Regions from separate parts of the Homo sapiens genome. Here regions 2, 3, 4 and 5 are each linked to region 1. Evidence: promoter capture Hi-C in human tissues and cell types (Jung and others, 2019). All regions are on one chromosome and are shown on one strand. The core of a region is centred on a gene start or on the middle of the fragment in contact, and the rest is flanking DNA. Distances in the headings are between cores, read along the strand shown.

Region 1 (2,700 bases), core at 1-2,500:
TTGAAGTAATTACTTTTAGAGAGCTTGTTTGGAGGTTCTAGCAGGGGAGTGCAGCTACTCATATACCCTTGCCCAAAGAACGGCCCTCCTCTGTTGGGGAAGGTTGTCCGCAGCGTCTGGAAGGACGCATGTGGACGGATGAGGGAGGAAGGAGACATCCACCTAGCCAGCCAGATCAGACAAATTAACCCTGGCCATCAGTGGGGTGACAGATGTTGCAGCCAGATCACCCTCACATCCGGAAATAATTGCTTTTAAAACGCAATATTTGAAAACCTGAATTTTCTTGGGTAAGCAACTATTATATTGCTAATTTAACGAAACTTTTTTTAAAAATATTAATATACTTAAATTTTAGAGCAATTTTAGAATTGGTTAGAAAGTACAATGTTCCCACAACCCCCCTTCTCTGCACCATACACACAGCTTTCCCCTTTTTTTTTTACTACTTATGTTTGTGTGGTACGTTTGTTATACTTGATGAGCCGGTATCAATGCATGGTTACTAACTAAAGCCCATACTTCACAGTTTACATTACGGTCCATTCTTGGTGTTGTGCATTCTATGAGATTTCACAATGTGCAATTACATATATCCACTTTGATAGTATCATACAGAGCAGTGTTTTTTTTTTTTCTTTGAGATAGGCTCTCATTCTGTCACCCCAGCTGGAGTGCAGTGGCGTGAACACAGGTCACTGCAGCCTCAACCTCCCAGGCTCAGGTGATCCTCCCATCAGCCTCCCAAGTGGCAGAGGAAAAACAAAGGACACTGGGTGTGAGGGAGAGGTGCAAAGTCAGGACCAAGCATCCATGGGAACACAGGGGAGGATGAAGGCACTGAGGTTGGGGAGAGAGAGCAGAGCTATCAGTGTTGAAGGCCGGAAAGGATGAGGGAGTCTGCAGGCTCGGCCCGATCAACTGGTTCCAGCTTCTGTGACCTGCCTGGAGGAAGATGAAACAGGCTCCTCATCCTTATTGGTAAAGATAAACCCAAATCCCATCTCACCTCCCAGCTCTGGTCTTCCCACCTTAGCCACTGCCCACCTCACTCCATCTCTCCTTGCCAAGCCTAGACTGGCTTAGTTTTCACTGCTCTGTGGTCTCACAGTGCCCCGTGGCTATGGCTGTAGATGCACTTACCACTTGTTTTACAGTTGTCTCTTCACGTGGTCATATCTGTCTTGAGTCTCTGCACTCCCAGGGCAGAGGCTGGGTCTCATTCATCCAGCAGCCCCAAGGCCCAGCCCCACTCCTAGCATGTGTCATTGCTTAGTGTTAAGTGACTGTCCATTGTGACATGTGGACATTCTCAAGGTCACATAAGCAGCTATATGATGCTAAGCGATGGGGAATTATCTTGCTGCTTGGTGGGGGGTGGGAGACGGTGGAGGATGATGGAAAAGCATTTTTAAAGAGTGAACATTGAGTAGCTGAGTAGCTACTTTTTTTTCTGCCTCAGCTTGTGGCTGGGACCCCGGGCGCACGCCACCACGCCTGGCTAATTTATGTATTTTTCTCTAGAGATGGGGTTTCGCCATGTTGCCCAGGCTGGCGTGAGTATAATTTTTTTTTTTTTTTGAGATGGAGTCTCACTCTGTCGCCCAGGCTGGAGTGCAGTGGCACGATCTCAGCTCACTGCAAGCTCCGCCTCCCGGGTTCACGCCATTCTCCTGCCTCAGCCTCTTGAGTAGCTGGGACTACAGGTGCCGTGAATGTAATTTTTAATCAGTCAAGTTTTTCCTTCTATAGACATGGGCAAAGTGCAAATAAGAAATTGAGAGAGATAATAGAAGGTACAGCTATGCTCTTTGCACCTGGCCAGATATGGGTAGAAGTGGACCAGGGGCTACCTGGCTGTGCAAATTCTCTCCATGAGCCATGCAGCCGTGCTCCAGACTCCATTCCCCACCCATGGGAGGTCCCTGTGGCAATCACTGAAAATTTTCCTGAAACAGCCATTTCCCCAGAATGCAATCTACTGGGCATTTAAATAGTCTGATTGAGTTAATAACTTGTGAACACCGTGGCAACATATCCATAACATGAAGCTTACCGTGTTAAGCCGTTTTAGGTACACAGTTCTGTGGCATTCAGTACATTCACATTGTTGTGCCACCTGCACTGCCTTCCATCTCCAGAGCTTTTTCATCTTTTCCACCTGAATCTGTGTCCATGAAATAAATTTCTCACCCCCTGTCCCCTGTCAATGGACACCTGGGTTGTTCCTACCTTTTGGCTATTGTGAATAATGCTGTTATGAACATGGATATACAAGAAAGTTAATAATTTTAAGCAGAATTTAATAAATACAGAAGATTCTTCCAATGAGAAAATATTTCAAAAGCCTGCCATTCAAAGGTGTTCTGCAGAGCAACAGCACTGGCTTCACTTGGGCCTTTGCTACTAATGCAGAATCTCAGGCTCTGCCCTGGACCTTTGTTACAGAATCTGCTTTTTTTTTTTTTTTGAGACAGTTTTGCTCTGTCACCCAGGCTGGAATGCAGTGGTGCCATCTCATGTCACTGCAACCTCCCCACCTCCCAGGTTCAAGTGATTCTCCTGCCTCAGCCTCCTGAGTAGCTGGGACTAGAGGCGCCCACCACTATGTCTGGCTAATTTTTGTGTATTTTTAGTAGAGATGGGGTTTCACCATGTTGGCCAGGCTGGTCTCGAACTCCTGACCTCAAGTGATCCACT
Region 2 (2,700 bases), core at 79-2,578, 190 kb before region 1:
AACTCCTTCAAACTCAAGTCCAAACTCCTGCACCCCAACATCACACTCTGCTCGGGCCCAGCCACTCGCAGTTCCCTAGGCACCCTTCCAGGTTAGACACTGTGGGGGACAGCGCTGCTGACTCCCATGGCCCTTGAGCCGCCTGCCTGGTGGGGGATGCAGCAGATCGGCTCCTCCACGTCGGTTCCACACGCCTTTTGCTGTGCTTTCCTGAACCACAAAGGCTCGGAAGCTAAAATGCACCTTCCAGAATCATTTCCAGTGGGATTCTGCCTCCAATCAGATGCACTTACTGGAGGCTAGAATGTGGAACAGAGTGAGGGTGTGGGAGGTGCAGAACAGAGAAAGTGGGGTGCCCCTGACTCTGGGCCTGCACTGCAGCAGAACCCCGCTGGTCTCACGCTCTACGCTGGGCACAGGGGCAGGTCCTGAGATAGTGCCTGAGAGCCACCCCACCTCAATGCAGGCCCTTCCCACAGCTTACAGTATCTATTTCCCTGTATCAAATCCTTCCTGCTTAAAATATCTGGGTGGTTTCTCTGTCTACACTGACCCCACTACACTCACTTCCTCATCTTTGTCCAGCACTCAATGGTAAATGTGCAATGAACACAGCCTCCCCACCACTGGGCACAGGCCAGGGCAGAACAGAACAAATACTGAACGGACTGACAGAACTGGACCCGGAAAATCGGTGAGAATAAAAACAGAAAAGCTGCTCTAGAACTCTGGATTCATCAATCACAGCGATTAAAGGTGATAAAAATCAAAGACACCACTTTTATCTGCACAAGATCGCTTTGGTTCCCCCAGAAGACAATCATTACATTCGCAGGTGCACAAGCAAAGCTGGCCCAGAGAGAAGACACCAGAACCCTCTGAGAATTGCATCTGGCCACAGGAGAATGCAGTCTGGTGGGGCCAGTGTGACGAGCAGACCTGGCAGCCCCCGGCAGCCCCACGCCGGCCACTCTCAGGTGCCGGGAGCCTTCCATGACCTCTCTGGCTCTCACTCTCTTCCCCTCTGTCTCAAGCGACAAGAATGACTGTCTCCTAAAGAAATGAAGTTAGAAATTAAATATGTTCATGTCGGGCTGGGTGCGGTGGCACACACCTGTAACCCCAGCACTTTGGGAGGCTGAGGAGGGTAGATCACGAGGTCAGAAGTTCAAGACCAGCCTGGCCAACATGGTGAAACCCCATCTCTACTAAAAATACAAAAATAAGCCAGGCGTGGTGGCACCTGCCTGTAATCCCAGCTACTCGGGAGGCTGAGGCAGGAGAATCATATGAACCCGGGAGGCGGAGGTTGCAGTGAGCCAAGATTACGCCACTGTACTCCAGCCTGGGTGACACAGTGAGACTCTGTCTCCAGAAAATAAATAAATATGTTCATGTTACAAAAGCACTCTGAAACTCTCAAGTAGGACCAATGACCAGACTTGTTAATTATTTTATTTTGAAGAGGCAAAATCTTTCAGCAAAAGTCACTCATAAACAAATGCTGTTGTATTTGAGGGAAGTGACCCCATCCCAGGCTCAGAAGACACTCAAGAACGCACTCCATGAACCAGCTCTTTACAAGAGAAAAGCACTGTAAACACCTCAGAGCCTCCTCGTACCCCAAGTTACTGTGCAAGAGGAGAAACCGGGCAGCTCCCTGAAACCACCTGGACATGGGTACAGGTCACACAGGCAAGCATGACAACAGTGAGGCTGAGCGCCCCCTGCACTTTCCCACTGCCTCTTTAAGCTTTTCTTCTTCTGGACACAAAACGATAAGCAAGTCACCAACACCTCTGTTCTTCCACTCAGCAATCTTTTTGTTTTAACTCAGTTGCTCCCCTTCAGGAAAGATACAAGAACTCTATTTTCATGACAAAGGAACTGTTGCTAAAACATTACCTTTGCACCTCTGCAATATTAATGCACATATTTTAACAAATAAGTAAAAAGTATAAATGTCAAAGTGGATGTGCAGCTGCGAGAAACCAGCCGAGCGAGAATGTTACAAGTGCAAATGCTGAAAATGAAGCTATTTGTGACTGAACTTTTGGCAAGCAAAAATGAACACAATAGCAGGAAGATGTGCCTTTCCCTTCACGAAGTGCTAGTAAGTAATTCAGGGTCTCCCAGACTCTTCCCCAAGCATTTCAGAGGGCAGGTGATGCCACCCCCAAGCCTTTGTGGCCACTACTGGCCACTGAACAGCAGTTAGCCAAGAGGGGACCCAGGATCTTTGGAAGTCTTCAGACCCAAATTATTATTATTACTATTATTATTATTATTTAGATGGAGTCTCGCTGTCACCCAGGCTAGAGTGCTTGGCATGGTCTCAGCTCACTGCAACCTCTGCCTCCCAGGTTCAAGTCATTCTCCTGCCTTAGCCTCCCAAGTAGCTGGGATTACAGGCATGCACCACCACACCCAGCTAATTTTTGTATTTTTAGTAGAGACGGCATTTCGCCATGCTGACTGAACTCCTGACCTCAAGTGATCCACCGGCCTTGGCCTCCCAAAGTGCTGGGATTACAGGTATCAGCCACCATGCCTGGCCCAGACCCAAATTATTAATCAGCCTGTGTTAACAACATAAAAGAATGAATTAAACCACTCTGTGCCCTCCTTAGGAGAGAATGCACACCTTTACAAGTGAATCTCCATTGGCTTCTACCAAAAACTAAAACCCAAGTATCTGTT
Region 3 (2,700 bases), core at 201-2,700, 140 kb before region 1:
TTGAGACTTTGAAGTCTAATAAATACTAATACAATAACCTATGACAATAGCCAATGATTTCTAGTGATTACCACGCATTATACATTGTGCTAAATTCTTATTTAATCCCTGTCATAACAACTCTATGATACAGATACAATTATTATTCTTGTTCTATGAATGAGTAAAGGCTTGGAAGTTAAGTGGCTTGCTCCAAATCATAAGAAGGGTAGAGGTGGTGTTGAAAACCAGGTGTCAGGCTCCAGAACCCAGACTAGTGACTGTTATGCTACACTGGACATTGTTCATATTCTGATGGGGCTAGAAATTTATGGACACCAGCAGGAGCCTTTTGTGTTGAAGCCTCCTGGTGGCTAGAAAACAGGGATTCAGGCCAGGCTATGCTTTTTAATGCAAGGCGGAGTCACCATTCAGTAGCTTAGCATTGTCACAGTGCCCCACAGGGTTAAAGAAACTGGTAACCTACAGAAAGCTTGAGCTTGTCTTGCAGGCGGACAGATAAAGAAACAGTTTGCTATAATCCCATCTGCTTACAAAGCTGGCTGAAGCAGTCTGGAACCAATATGGCTGACTGGAGTCTGCACAGCATAGACTTGGAGGCCAGATGAGTGACCTTTTTTTTTTTTTTTTGAGGCAGGGTCTCACTGTGTCACCCAGGCTGGAGTGCAGTGGCGTGATCTCAGCTCACTGCAACCTCTGCCTCCCAAGTTCGAGCGATTCTTTTGCCTCAGCCTGCCACGTAGCTGGGATTACAGGCATGTGCCACCATGCCTGGCTAATTTTTGTACTTTTTTTTACTAGAGATGGGGTTTCACTATGTTGGCCAGGCTGGCCTCAAACTCCTGACCTCAAGTGATCCTCTCACCTCAACCTCCCAGAGTGCTGGGATTACAGGCATCGAGCCACCATGCCCGGCCAATGAATGACCTTTTTATGTCACAACCAGTTCCCTCCAAATTTGCACATGCGACCCATGAAGAAGCTTGAAGAGGCAACTGCACATACCCAGGGACTTTCCAAACTCTGCTTCCTTTCAGCCAATCATTGTCCAGCTCCAAAATTCCACCTCCAAGATCTTTCTCTTAAATCTAAGACTGTAAGTCTTGTATGGGGAGACAGATTTGAGCCTGACTCTCGTCTCCTTGCTTGGCTGCCTGGCAATAATCCTTTCTCCCTACAAAAATCTGGTGCTTTGGTGTTTGGCTTTCTGTTGCATGGGCAAATGAACCCATTTCTATCCGGTGGCAGTATTCTTTTCACGTCTGCCAAAAGGTGGTGTTTTCATGAGGTAGGAAAGAAACGTTTTGTTAGATCCATCTCTTACCTTGAATGTAAAACTTGCATACGATGAAATGCACAGTCATTCATTAGATTTTGACAAATGCATTTGCCTTGTAACCATAAAAGCCTACCAAGACACAGAATATTACCATCACCCTAGAAAATTGCCTCATGCAACCTTTCCAGTCAATCCCCACCTATCCCAGAAAAGCAACAGTTCTGATTTTTTTCACTTGGGTTGGTTTTAAATTTTACAGATTTACTTGCATTTATGTTAAGTTCTCCAGGAGCCTTTACATCACTTGTTATATCACTATCAAACTCCTTCAAAGTGCTGTGGATGCTTGGGATCAAGGGAGAAGAACGGGGAGGGAAATTTGCATTTTAAAGTCTTTTTTTTTTTAAAAAAAAACTCTATAGGGGCTGGTTATTCTGAGTATTAAACTAATTTTGCACAGAATAAAAGAGTCACCCCCAAGCAAATAATTAAAAAGAATAGCCAACCAAGTCAGCTACAGTTAATTAATGGCAGTTTTTGAAAGACCACCAGACAGTGTAGACTCCAGGCAAGCAGAGAAGCAGGTGGCTTTTCCTCCCTTGGGACTGCCAGAGGGCTCCTGTGCATCAGGACTAGCCTCTTACTCCCTCATGCCCTGTGGTGGTCATGACAGCCCTTACCAGGTAGGAGGGGCAGAAGTCCTCATTTCTCATAAGGGAAAACTGGTTTAGGTGGCATAAGTGGCAGCCTCCTGCTCACACAGCAAGTGATCCACACAGCAGCCTTTCTGTCTGTCTGTGGCTGCTCTTTCAGACTAAGGTTTTAATGACTGATAGTAGCTTGCACCAGACATTCTCCTCTGGTAAATCCCAACACAGACGTGTGTCCAAGGAAAGTCCTGCCATTTACCTCTTGGAGTAGAGATCTGTCAACGTATACTTGCATTAAGCGCTTTGAGATAGAGATGTATGAATTTGGATAAGTTGCTCTTCTCTGGGAAGGGATCAAAAGCATCTGGCTCATAATATTAATAATGTCAATTATTATTAATTGACTAACCATATTAACTAACAAAAATGACAATAATAACAAAAGCCACATCAGGCTGGGAGCAGTGGCTCACACCTATAACTCTAGCACTTTGGGAGGCTGAGGCAAGAGGATTGCTTGAGCCCAGGAGTTCAGGATCAGCCTGAGCAACATAGTAAGCCCTCGTCCCTACAAAAATAAAAATAAAAGTTAAAAATTAATCAGGTGTGGTGGTGCACACCTGTAGTACCAGCTGCTTGGGAGGATGAGATGGGAGGATTGCTTGAGCCCGGGGGATCGAGGCTGCAGTGAGCTGTGATTGCTCCACTGCACTCCAGTCTGGGTGGCAAAGTGAGATCCTGTCTCAAAAAAAAAAAAGAAAAAGAAAAAAT
Region 4 (2,700 bases), core at 121-2,620, 210 kb before region 1:
CTCACACCTGTAATCCCAGCACTTTGGGAGGCCAAGGCAGGTGGATCACCTGAGGTCAGGCGTTCAAGAACAGCCTGGCTGACATGGTGAAACTCCATCTCGACTAAAAAAATACAAACATTAGCTGGGTGTGGTGGTGGGCACCTGTAGTCCCAGCTACTCAGGAGGCTGAGGCATGAGAACTGCTTGAACTTGGGAGATGGAGGTTGCAGTGAGCTGAGATTGTGCCACTGCACTCCAGCATGGGGGACAGCGAGACTCCGCTCAAGAAAAAAAAAAAAAAAGTATATACACACACACACACACACACGTACATAACGCAAGTAAAAAAATGATTAAATTTTTTTGATGATGACTGCAATTAAGTAAACATTCATGTGAACTTGGGCATGGACTGGAGAGAGGTAAGTCAAAGGGAAAAGGACAGTCATGAGGGCTGGGCCATGGGTGGTTGGTTCTCTCTGAATCCCAAACTTCCCACACGTTAGCTATATTGTTTTTATGAGGAAAAAATAAACACAACTTTATCCTCTGGCTTGCAAACTGGCTTTTACTATCTTCCTGCGGGGCTTAGCTCACTTTTTAATAGTTTAATATTGCTTGGTTTTGATTATCAAAGTATTCCATTCTCACTGTAAAAATTGGGAAAATCACTGAAAAGTCTGAAGAAAACAATGTCCACAATGTGATCGCCAGGCAATAAACTATTACTATATCAATATTTTGCCAAAATGTCTTTTAGTCAACGAATTTGATTTAGCTCACGCATGAGCACCTATGAAACACATTTTTAAAGCTTTATGTTGTTGACTTAACCAGTACACCTGTGCCTTACAGAGTTTTAAGTTACATTTTAAGGCATGCTGAGAAATTCATTTCCTGCTGAGAGCTGGCCTCCTTGTGCATTTGTGTAGGACATGAATCCTAGAGGGGCCCGTGCCTTTCTCAGAGTCCCGCACGGAGCAGAAGGTGCATGCTCTATCGGAGGTTACATCTCAGCTTAATCCCCGCCTCCCAGGTGCCGTGCACCCTGCACTGTGGCACGCGCTCTGAGGTGTACTCACAGGTCGTAGGAGAACTTCCTCTCCAGGTTGGTCTGGTTCTTCTGAAACTGGAGGACATCCTGCTGCAGCCTGCCGTAATTCCTCTGCAGGGTCTTTAACTGGTCTACACCAAGGGGACAAGGAATTGCACAGGTCACCGGCACAGCTGTCATGCCATTCAGCCAAAATATGACAGAGGCAGACTCACACATCAGACCATAAAGGGCAAGGACAGATTGGGACAAAGGAGGGGAGAGAGAAAAAGCTGAAAACACAGTCCCTCCCCAGAGTCACTAAACCCCAGCTGTGGAGAGTGCTCTGCAAGAGCAGCAAGCCGAAAGAAGCTGCGTCTTGATCCTTTCCCAAATGTCTCTCTTAAATCTCCTTTTTGGCCGCTAGCCTTTAATGTATATTGGAAGCTTCTGTGTGCCTGTCTCTTTTGTAGACATCATAAGCCCCGAGCTGTCCCCAAAGGTCACACACACCACCCTGCCCTCATCCCTGGCCGACTCATCCTTCCATCTGTAAAACACTGATTTTTGATGTTTGGTCAGATAAGCAGCCACTCCTGCTGGACACCCTGCCCTCGGCCACCAGGCTACCTGCCAGCATCCTCCCTCGTCATTTATTCACAGCCAAGCCACTCTCCAAGGCCCTGTGCCCATTTAATCAACCAACACTCTCATCAGGGAAAGAGCGGCTTTCTTTAAGGAAATTAATCAGCCCCATCCCTGCTGCCCTGATGACTTGGCTCATAAAAGAGCCCTAGCGGACAAAGGGCCAAGCTGGGGCAGAGGGGAAGGCAGCCACCAGGCGGATACCACAGTGGGCGGCAGCAGCAGCCAGGCCCGGACACAGCCAGGACAGACAGGCCAGGACAGATGCAGGCATCCCCAAGGTGGGCCCTCACAACACTAGACCTACAATAGTCTCAGGTGGAAAATAAAGTGAAATAAAATGGAAGCGTTCCGTGAATTACGATACACACAACACGGACTCATCCCAAAAGCACACACGTGACACCCTCAAGAGACAAAGCTGTGGCGAAGAGAACAGCTGGGTGGGTGCTGGGCCTAGACAGAGAGGGGACTGGTGACTTCGCAGGGCATGGGTGGGGGGTCCTGGAGCGGTGGGCAGCTGCCATGTTGACTGCAGTGGTGATCTGCGAGACTATTTGTCAGGACTTATCCAACTGTACCCACGAGGGGTAAATGTTCTTGTATATAAACGATACTTTAATATGCGTAACTGAACACACCCCACAATCCAACTAGGCAAGAGATAACGGAATACAACTCAGCAGTCAAAGAAATGAATGACTTGTATCACAGTGACATGGACGAATCGCAAATAACTATGCTGAGAGAGAAAAGGCAGGCAAAAAATGATAACAGATGGTCTGATTCCATCTGTATGCATGTACCCAATTATTATTATTTTTTAATTATACTTTAAATTCTAGGGTACATGTGCACAACGTGCAGGTTTGTTACATATGTATACATGTGCCATGTTGGTGTGCTGCACCCATTAACTCGTCATTTACAATAGGTAATTTCTCTTAAAGCCATCCCTCCCCCCTCCCCCCACCCCACGACACGCCCCAGATGTTCCTTGCCCTGTGTCCATGTGTTCTCATTGTTCAATTTCCACCTAT
Region 5 (2,700 bases), core at 31-2,530, 180 kb before region 1:
AGGCTTTAAACCATGTCTAGATTACTTATAATACTTAGTACAATATAAATGCTATGTAATTAGCTGTTAAGCCATATGTTTAGGAACTAATCACAAAAAAGTCTATACATGTTCAGTACAGATGCAACCACAGTAGGCCTAACTAATTTTTGTTTGTTTTTCTGAGATGGGAGTCTTGCTCTGTCACCCAGGCTAGAGTGCAGTGGCACGAACTTGGCTCACTGCAACCTCCGACTCCCAGGTTCAAAGGATTCTCCCATCTCAGCCTCCTGAGTAGCTGGGATTAGAGGTGGCCACCACCACACCCAGCTAGTTTTTTTTGTACTTTTAGTAGAGACAGTGTTTCACTATGTTGGCCAGGCTGGTCTCGAATTCTCGGCCTCAAGTGATCTGCCTGCCTCGGCCTCCCAAAGTGCTGGGATTATGGGCATGAGCCACCATGCCCAGCCAGGCTTAAGTACATTTTGAACAGCTAGTTTAATCTGCAGATGTGGAACTGTACATCCATCTCTGTGTTTACGAACTCTTACCTATGTGTACAGTCCCTTATTCACAACTTTGAAATCCAAAACGGTCTCTAAAAACTCAGAGAAAGTTTTAAAAACTTTTCCAGCAACAAAACCTGAACTGAGATCAAGGTCTGATCAGAACTTATCTGAAGCTACTGATAGTCTTTATCTTCCTCCTTTCATGTGAATGCTCATACATTTCACTGCAGAAAGATGAGTGTTTGAGCATGCGGTGCTGTCCTAGATCCTCCTGGGGCTGTCACATAATATATAATAAATGCCCAATGTTATCTGAATTCTGAAAAAAGTCCTGAGTTCCAAACCTAGCTGGCCTCAAGGAGCTTGAGATGAACCAACAGCAAGCTTACTGTTGTGAGGCACTGCTCAATACAGGGGCTCGTATCAGCTTTGGGGGCATTATCATCCCCATTTTGCAGGAGATGAAATAAATCACATCTCTGTGGATCTATTTCTGGGTCAAAAATGTATGTTTTTAATATTGATAGAGCTTCTCTCTTCCAAAATAGTTGGCAAATTACAAAGGGAAAAACAGTTCTATTACATGAAGAATTCTGGCAGATGCCACCTTAGCCACATGTTCAAGCTTGGTATCCCTGATAATGAGGCACATCGACATCACATACCCCCTGATATGGTGCACTAGGAGGGCACGGCACCTCTACAGCCTCCTGCCAGGGATACATAACCTCAATCTTATCAGGAGAAAATTCAGAGGAAGTCAACGCGTCAGACATTCTATAAAACACTTGGCCAGCACGGTTAAAAAGATATTACCAAGGTTAATCTCTTAATTTTGATAAATTCTATGGTTAAGGGGAAACAGGGTAAAGGGTATATAGGAACTATATGTACTATTTTCCAACCCTTCCTTAAGTCTAAACTATATAAAAAATTATTTGATAGATCTTAACCATATCCAAAACAGGTCCAACCTGTCAAATGCATGAGCCCCTTGAACCTTCTAGTTAAATATTAATATTTTAAAAAATTCCTTCCTTTCGCTGGGCACGGAGGCTCATGCCTGTAATTCCAGCACTTTAGGAGGCTGAGGCAAGCGGATCACGAGGTCAGGAGTTCAAGACCATCCTCACCAATATGGTGAAACCCCATCTCTACTAAAAATACAAGAAGTAGCCGGGGGTGGTGCTCACCTGTAGTCCTAGCTACTCGGGAGGCTGAGGCAGAAGAATCACTTGAACCCGGGAGGCAGAGGTTGCAGTGAGTCGAGATCGCGCCACTGCACTCCAGCCTGGGGGCAACAGAGTGAGACTCTGTCCCAGAGAAACAAACAAAAAGACAGTTAGGCCTACAAAAAAAATTTTCCTTCTTTTCATATAGAGGTTTTAATCACAATCTTCTGCAGCAGGAGAATGCCTGTTTTCCGACATGGTAACATAGAAAACAAACTTTTTAATGCCTGACAATCTCATTAGTGATATTTTCAAGCACATTAATTGTGAGTACAAATGAGTGTCTTTTCATTTATTGGCCATCTGCATGTTCATTTTGGTGAAATGCCTTTTCATATTTTTTGCCCAGTTTTAAACTGGGGTGTTCATCTTATTGATTTGCTAAAGCTCTTTGTCTATTAAAGGTAAACCAATCTTTGGTCCTTCATTTGAATAATTTTTTTTCAATTTTTCATCTATTCTTTTACTTTACAGAAATTTTGCCCAAAGTTTTTGTTTTTTTTTTTTTTTTTGAAGGTTCTACTTTTTTTTTAAATTATACTTTAAGCTCTGGGATACATGTGCAAAACGTGCAGGTTTGTTACATAGGTATACCTGTGCCATGATGGTTTGCTGCACCCATCAACCCCTCACCTACATTTAGTTACTTCTCCTAATGCTTACCCCTCCCCTAGTTCCCCACCCCACCACAGGCCCTGGTGTGTGATGTTTCCCTCCCTGTGTCCATGTTTTCTCATTGTTCAGCTCCCACTTATGAATGAGAACATGTGGTGTTTGGTTTTCTGTTCCTGTGTTAGTTTGCTGAGAATGATGGTTTCCAGCTTCATCCGTGTCCCTGGCAAAGGACATGAACTCATTTATGGCTGCATAGTATTCCATGGTGTATACGTGCCATATTTTCTTTATCTAGTCTATCACTGATGGGCATTTGGGTTGGTTCCAAGTCTTTGCTATCGTGAACAGTGCCGCAATAAACATAC

The links. The method cuts DNA at HindIII sites, captures the fragments that hold promoters and counts their contacts. A contact is called where the count stands out against the background at its distance.
Region 2: a fragment that was not itself captured here is called in contact with the fragment with the promoter of C9orf153 in region 1 in 2 of the 25 tissues and cell types used here (mesendoderm cells and thymus).
Region 3: a fragment that was not itself captured here is called in contact with the fragment with the promoter of C9orf153 in region 1 in 4 of the 25 tissues and cell types used here (H1 embryonic stem cells, mesenchymal stem cells, mesendoderm cells and 1 more).
Region 4: a contact is called between a fragment that was not itself captured here and the fragment with the promoter of C9orf153 in region 1, in 2 of the 25 tissues and cell types used here (H1 embryonic stem cells and small bowel).
Region 5: a fragment that was not itself captured here is called in contact with the fragment with the promoter of C9orf153 in region 1 in 1 of the 25 tissues and cell types used here (mesendoderm cells).

The regions. Positions count from the first base shown.
Region 1 is chr9:86,258,407-86,261,106 of GRCh38, forward strand. C9orf153 (chromosome 9 open reading frame 153) reads right to left here and starts at 1,251. Exons shown (of 4, transcript NM_001276366.4): 1 at 1,144-1,251. It also overlaps the pseudogene RN7SKP264. The HindIII fragment of the contact is 6,872 bases long and covers 1-2,700 here.
Region 2 is chr9:86,064,668-86,067,367 of GRCh38, forward strand. All of the region lies in intron 3 of GOLM1 (golgi membrane protein 1), which reads right to left. Among named protein-coding and RNA genes, the nearest start is that of GOLM1, 34 kb to the right of the region's middle. RefSeq lists enhancers at 166-666, 667-1,667. The HindIII fragment of the contact is 3,549 bases long and covers 1-2,700 here.
Region 3 is chr9:86,122,134-86,124,833 of GRCh38, forward strand. No RefSeq gene overlaps it. Among named protein-coding and RNA genes, the nearest start is that of GOLM1, 24 kb to the left of the region's middle. The HindIII fragment of the contact is 3,721 bases long and covers 1-2,700 here.
Region 4 is chr9:86,045,406-86,048,105 of GRCh38, forward strand. GOLM1 (golgi membrane protein 1) reads right to left here. Exons shown (of 10, transcript NM_016548.4): 5 at 1,065-1,167. Among named protein-coding and RNA genes, the nearest start is that of GOLM1, 53 kb to the right of the region's middle. The HindIII fragment of the contact is 3,554 bases long and covers 1-2,700 here.
Region 5 is chr9:86,083,239-86,085,938 of GRCh38, forward strand. All of the region lies in intron 1 of GOLM1 (golgi membrane protein 1), which reads right to left. Among named protein-coding and RNA genes, the nearest start is that of GOLM1, 15 kb to the right of the region's middle. The HindIII fragment of the contact is 3,123 bases long and covers 1-2,700 here.